Linked DNA regions of Homo sapiens: region 1 is linked to region 2. Evidence: promoter capture Hi-C in human tissues and cell types (Jung and others, 2019). All regions are on one chromosome and are shown on one strand. The core of a region is centred on a gene start or on the middle of the fragment in contact, and the rest is flanking DNA. Distances in the headings are between cores, read along the strand shown.

The links. Contacts are between HindIII fragments. The study calls those that stand out against the background at their distance.
Region 1: the fragment with the promoter of SUOX here is called in contact with a fragment that was not itself captured in region 2 in 1 of the 25 tissues and cell types used here (aorta).

What each region holds. Positions count from the first base shown.
Region 1 is chr12:55,995,839-55,998,538 of GRCh38, reverse strand. It overlaps SUOX (sulfite oxidase), which reads right to left and starts at 1,263. Exons shown (of 5, transcript NM_001032386.2): 1 at 1,200-1,263; 2 at 816-924. RAB5B (RAB5B, member RAS oncogene family) reads right to left here. Exons shown (of 6, transcript NM_002868.4): 6 at 1,856-2,700. RefSeq lists a silencer at 1,214-1,403 and an enhancer at 989-1,489. The HindIII fragment of the contact is 9,188 bases long and covers 1-2,700 here.
Region 2 is chr12:56,456,535-56,459,234 of GRCh38, reverse strand. It overlaps a transcript of MIP not described here. Among named protein-coding and RNA genes, the nearest start is that of MIP, 3.2 kb to the right of the region's middle. The HindIII fragment of the contact is 6,307 bases long and covers 1-2,700 here.

The DNA.
Region 1 (2,700 bases), core at 14-2,513, 460 kb after region 2:
AGGGTCTTGCTCTGCCCAGGCTGGAGTGCAGTGGCGTGATCTCAGCTCACTATAGCATCAAACTTCTGGGCTCAAGCCATCCTCCTGCCTCAACCTCCTGAGTAGCGGGGACCACAGGCGTGTGCCACCATGCATGGTCTTTTTTTTTTTTTTTTTGTAGAGATGAGGTCTTACTATGTTGCCCAGGCTGGTCTCAAACTCCTGGGTTCAAGTGATCCTTCAAACTTGGTCTCACAAAGTCCTGGGATTATTACAGGCATGAGCCACCACTCCCAGCCTCAAAATATCTTATTGTACTGTGTTCAACTATTTTCCAAGCGGTTGACCATAGCTAACTGAAACTCAGGAAAAGGAAACTTTGGATAAGGGGAGACTGCTGTAATAACATTGTCTTTGAAGGCTTTTCAGTCCCCAACTCTCCCTCCATTCACCCTAAAAAAAATTGAACCCAGCTGGGAACTGGACCCCAACCTAGGGTCCCGGACCACCTCAATCTTCTCTGTGCCACTGTAGTGAGCTCAGCAAATTGAGGAGTTAATGGCCAGAGTGTCAGGGGCAGGCTGGAGAAGGAAGGTAATTTTTCTGCTCTCTGCCCTGCAAGTTTCTTCCTCAAATTGCTGAACAGAGAGCACTGACCCAGCAGGGCCAAAGTGAGGAGGGGTGACAAATGTCTAAACTGCTGATGAGATGCTGGAGACCAATGTGCTGGGGTGGGTGGGTCGTGGGTAGGGAGGAAAGGAAACCTAGAGATGGGAATAGGAGCAGTCTTCACCTTGCCCCTGGGCCATGGGACCATTACTCTCTCTGCCACCTACCTCAATGCCAGCAGCCTGTTTGTACTAGACCAGAGCAGTGCAGGTAGGGCTGACTCGCAGGTGAACTCAGTGAGCCCAGAATCCCAGGTTTGGGAGGGACAGCCTTTTGCTGTAATACAGAAATGCCACCCGTTGGTGCAGGTGATGACCCCTCACTCCCCATGGGCACGTTAGGTAGGAACATACGTCCGGCATCCAGGCACAAAAGGGTCTTGCGGCAACACCCCGCGATCTCAAGAGCACCCAGACAGAAGGAGTGGAGGCAGGTACTGATAGTTTTGTTGCCCTTGAGGTTCGGAGCACAGCTGGACACCAAGGCCCCCTCCGCTGCCCAGCTCAGCAGCCCTTCCTCCCCAGCTTCTTTACCACCCCCAGTCTCCTTACCGGGTCCAGTGTCTTCAGCACTGCAATTTTACCAGCCCAGCTCTGCGAGTTCTCGAGAAGGGGCGGGGCCAGCGCCGTTATGTCCGGCTGCAGTAAGTGACCTCTCACTCCCCTCAGCTTATCCCTCAGCCATTGGCTGGAAGCGGGTGGCTCAACCATTGGCTGGAACCCGCCTCCTGGAGCCGAGACAGGCAGGTTGCTAAGAAGCCTGGGAGAAGAGGCTGGCTCTTTTTGCTGTCACTCTCGCCAACAGTCCGGAGTCCATTATACCCCTGGTGTGCAAAGAATGGGACCCTTGTGCACCAGGGCTGTATGTCCGGAGCTCGGGCAGTGTGGAAGGTGACAAGGAATCCAAAAGTTGGGCTGACAGGTGGGAGATTTTGAGACACCCCTGCCGCCCCTCCCTGGAGGAGGCCTCGGGATCCAGTCCGGTTTTCCCCGGCTGTGATCTCCACTTTAAACCCAGGGTAGACCTACCTCTATCTACTCTGTTGCAACTACAACTACCCTGTTTATCTTTTAGGGAAAGCAAAGTCAATCGCTTAGTTCTCGTATTCCAGGAATGATAACAGAAATGCCTAAAATAGTGGTTCCAAGAATTTGAGATTCCTTGGGCTAGTCGAATTTCTCCCCAAACAAAAATGAAACAACAACACTGAATAGCCGTCTTTTATTTTGCGTAGAAAAAAAAAATAATAATCGCCCCTTGGTGGCACACGCCTGTAGTCCCAGTACTCGGGAGGCTGAGGCGGGAGGATCGCTTAAGCCCAGGAGTTCGAGGTTGCACTGAGCCAAGATCGCGGCACTGCACTCCAGCCTGGACAACAGAGCAAGACCCCATCTCTTAAAAAACAAACTGCCCCTTAACAAGAGCAATGGCAGCTTAACACCCCGAAGTATGAAGGTTGTAGTCTCTTATCTCAAAGTAAGGGGCATAAATATAATACATTTCCTATTACCCTTTTGTCATTTGATGCAGGACAAAATTTATCAAACCTAGTCCCCCAATCTGGACAAATGTATCCATACACTGCCCTCTAGAGGCCGGACGGTGGAGCTGCAATTTTAATCAGTTTAAGTGAAGGTGTTCACCTTTAATTTTGAAAGATCATTTCCTTTCCTTTCGGCTCTCCAACTAGAGCTTTTACCAGGAATCAGGGAACGGGGGTGGGGGGTATTACCAAGAGATATAAGGTAAGGGAACCGACAGTGAAAAGTTGGCAAGTTGGCTTTGGCTCTTAAGTGTTTGGAAATGGAAAGGATTTCAATCTGTATACAATCAAATCACTGAAGAAGGCTAATGCCCAACCTATCCTACCAGTTGTTAAAAAAAAAATATATATATATATATATATGTATATATATATGGAGAGAGAGAGAGTGAGAGAGAGAGAGAGAGGGAGAAAGAGGGAGAGAGAGAGAAAGCGAGCTTCAACCTAAAAAAAAAAAAGTCTCAGCCAAAGGAAGATACAGAGAAGTCAGTTAGGGACTATCTAAAAGC
Region 2 (2,700 bases), core at 167-2,666:
AGATAAGGAAAGCTAGCCATTTTATTTGTCGTCTATAAGAGATTGAATTAACTGCCCTTTGCTGTTCCATCTCTTATTATAAGAGGCTACAGGATTAGTGGGTAGAGATAACCCATTCCTGTTAATAAAACCCCATTGAGTGGCTTCTGTTTACTTTTTAAATTTTTTAATTATAATTTTTTTTTTTGAGACGGAGTCTCACTCTGTCTCCCAGGCTGGAGTGCAGTGGTGTGATCTCAGCTCACCACAGCCTCCACTTCCTGGGTTCAAGTGATTCTCTTGCCTCAGCCTCCCAAGTAGCTGGGATGACAGGTGAACACCATGACGCCTGGCTAATTTTTTTGTGTATTTTTAGTAGAGATGGGGTTTTGCCATGTTGGCTAGGCTGGTCTTGAATTCCCAACCTCAGATGATCCGCCCACCTCAGCTTCCCAAAGTGCTGGGATTACAGGTGTAAGCCACCGCACCCAGCCAAATTTTCAATTTTTTTTGAGACAGGGCCTGACTCTGTCACCAAGGCTGGAGTGCAGTGGTGCCATCTCAGTCCACTGCAACCTCTACCTCCCAGGCTCAAGTCATCCTCCCACCTCAGCCTCCCCAGTAGCTGGGACTACAGGTGTGTGCCATTGTGCCTGGCTAATTTTTGTATTTTTTGTACAGGAGGGGTTTTGCCATATTGCCCACGCTGCTCTCTGACTCCTGAGCTCAAACGATCCTCCTACCTCAGCCTCCTGATTTGCTGGGACTACAGGTGCAGGTAGCTCCTGTTTTTAAGTGCTTTATTCTGTGCCAGACACTGTACTAGTCTCTTTACCTACATTATCTTATTTGATACAGAGGAAACTGAGACTCAGAAAGCTTATGCTAATCTGGCCAGGTGCAGTGACTCAGGCTTGTAATCCCAGCACTTTGGGAAGCCTCGGCAGGCGGATCACTTGAGGCCAGGAGTTCGAGATCAGCCTGGCCAACGTGGTGAAACCCTGTCTCTACTAAAAATACAAAAATTAGACAGGTGTGGTGGCGTGCACCTGTAATGCCAGCTATTTGGGAGGCTTGAACCCAGGAGGTGGAGGTTGCAGTGAGCTGAGATGGCACCACTGCACTCCAGAGTGAGAGACTCTGTCTCAAAAAAAAAAAAAAAAAAGCAAGCAAGCTTATGCTAATCTAATCTATTCGGCAAATATTTATTTACTGCCTTCTGTGTGTTAAGCACCAGGTTCGCACTGGTGAAAAATCAGACATGGGCCCTGCCCTCCTGGAACCTATATATAGCGGGGATAACTTGCCCAACTAGAAAGTGGTAAAGCATATATTGTTGTCACTGCTGTTTTTAATTAATTTGGGGTACACAGAATATTTTGTTGTTCATGATATCCTCTCCTCATTGGCCTATATATATGGCTCCCACTTATTTGTTTTTAATAATGATAATTAAGCATCATTTCTAACCATCCATCCAATAGAAAAACTAGAACCTTGACAATTACTATTATTTTATTTTATTTTATTTTATTTTTGAGACTGAGTTTCGCTCTTGTTGCCCAGGCTGGAGTGCAGTGGCACAATCTTGGCTCACTGCAACCTCCACCTCCCGGGTTCAAGCGATTCTCCTGTCTCAGCCTCCCGAGTAGCTGGGATTACAGGCACCCACCACCATGCCCGACTAATTATTGTATTTTTAGTAGAGATGGGGTTTCACCATGTTGGCCAGGCTGGTCTCCAACTCCTGACCTCAGGTGATCCGCCTGCCTCAGCCTCCCAAAGTGCTGGGATTACAGGCATGAGCCATTGCCCCCAGCCAACAATTACATAAAGTTACACGATGTGCTACCCAAGTTTCTCGTGGGTATATAAGTGAGAAGTGGAGTTGCTGAGTCAGAAATTATGTAATTTGACCTGGCATGGTGGCTCACACCTGTAATCCCAGCACTTTGGGAGGCTGAGAGGGGCAGATCACTTAAGGTCAGGAGTTTGAGACCAGAGTGGCCAACATGGTAAAACCCCGTTTCTACTAAAAATACAAAAATTAGCTGGGCATGGTGGTGGGCACCTATAGTCCCAGCTACTTGGGAGGCTGAGACATAAAAATTGCAGAGGTTGCAGTGAGCTGATTGTGCCACTGCACTCCAGCCTGGGCAACAGAGTGAGACTCTGTCTCAAAGAAAAAAAAAAGAAATTATGTAATTTGTTCATCTTTATAAGTAGGTGTTAAACTGTGTCCCAAAGTCATTATCTCAGGTGGGGAACAGTGCCTCACGCCTGTAATCTCAACACTTTGGGAGGCTGAGGTGACAGGATCACTTGAGCCCAGGAGTTTGAGGCCAGATTAGGCAACACAGTGAGACCCCATCTCTACAAAAAATAAAAAAGTTAGCTGAGCATGGTGGTAAACACCTGTAGTCCCAGCTATTTGGGAGGCTGGGGTAGGAGGATCGCTTGAGCCCAGGAGGTTGAAAATGCAATGAGCTGTGATTGCACCACTCGACTCCAGCATGGGTGACAGGGTGAAACCCTGTCTAAAAAAAAAAAAAAAAAAAAGTAATATCTCAGTTTATACTCCCACCAGCAGTTGTAACTGGTTCTTTTTTTTTTTTTTGAGACGGAGTTTCGCTCTTGTTGCCCAGGCTAGAGTACAATGGCGTGATCTCGGCTCACCACAACCTCTGCCTCCCGGGTTCCAACGATTCTCCTGCCTCAACC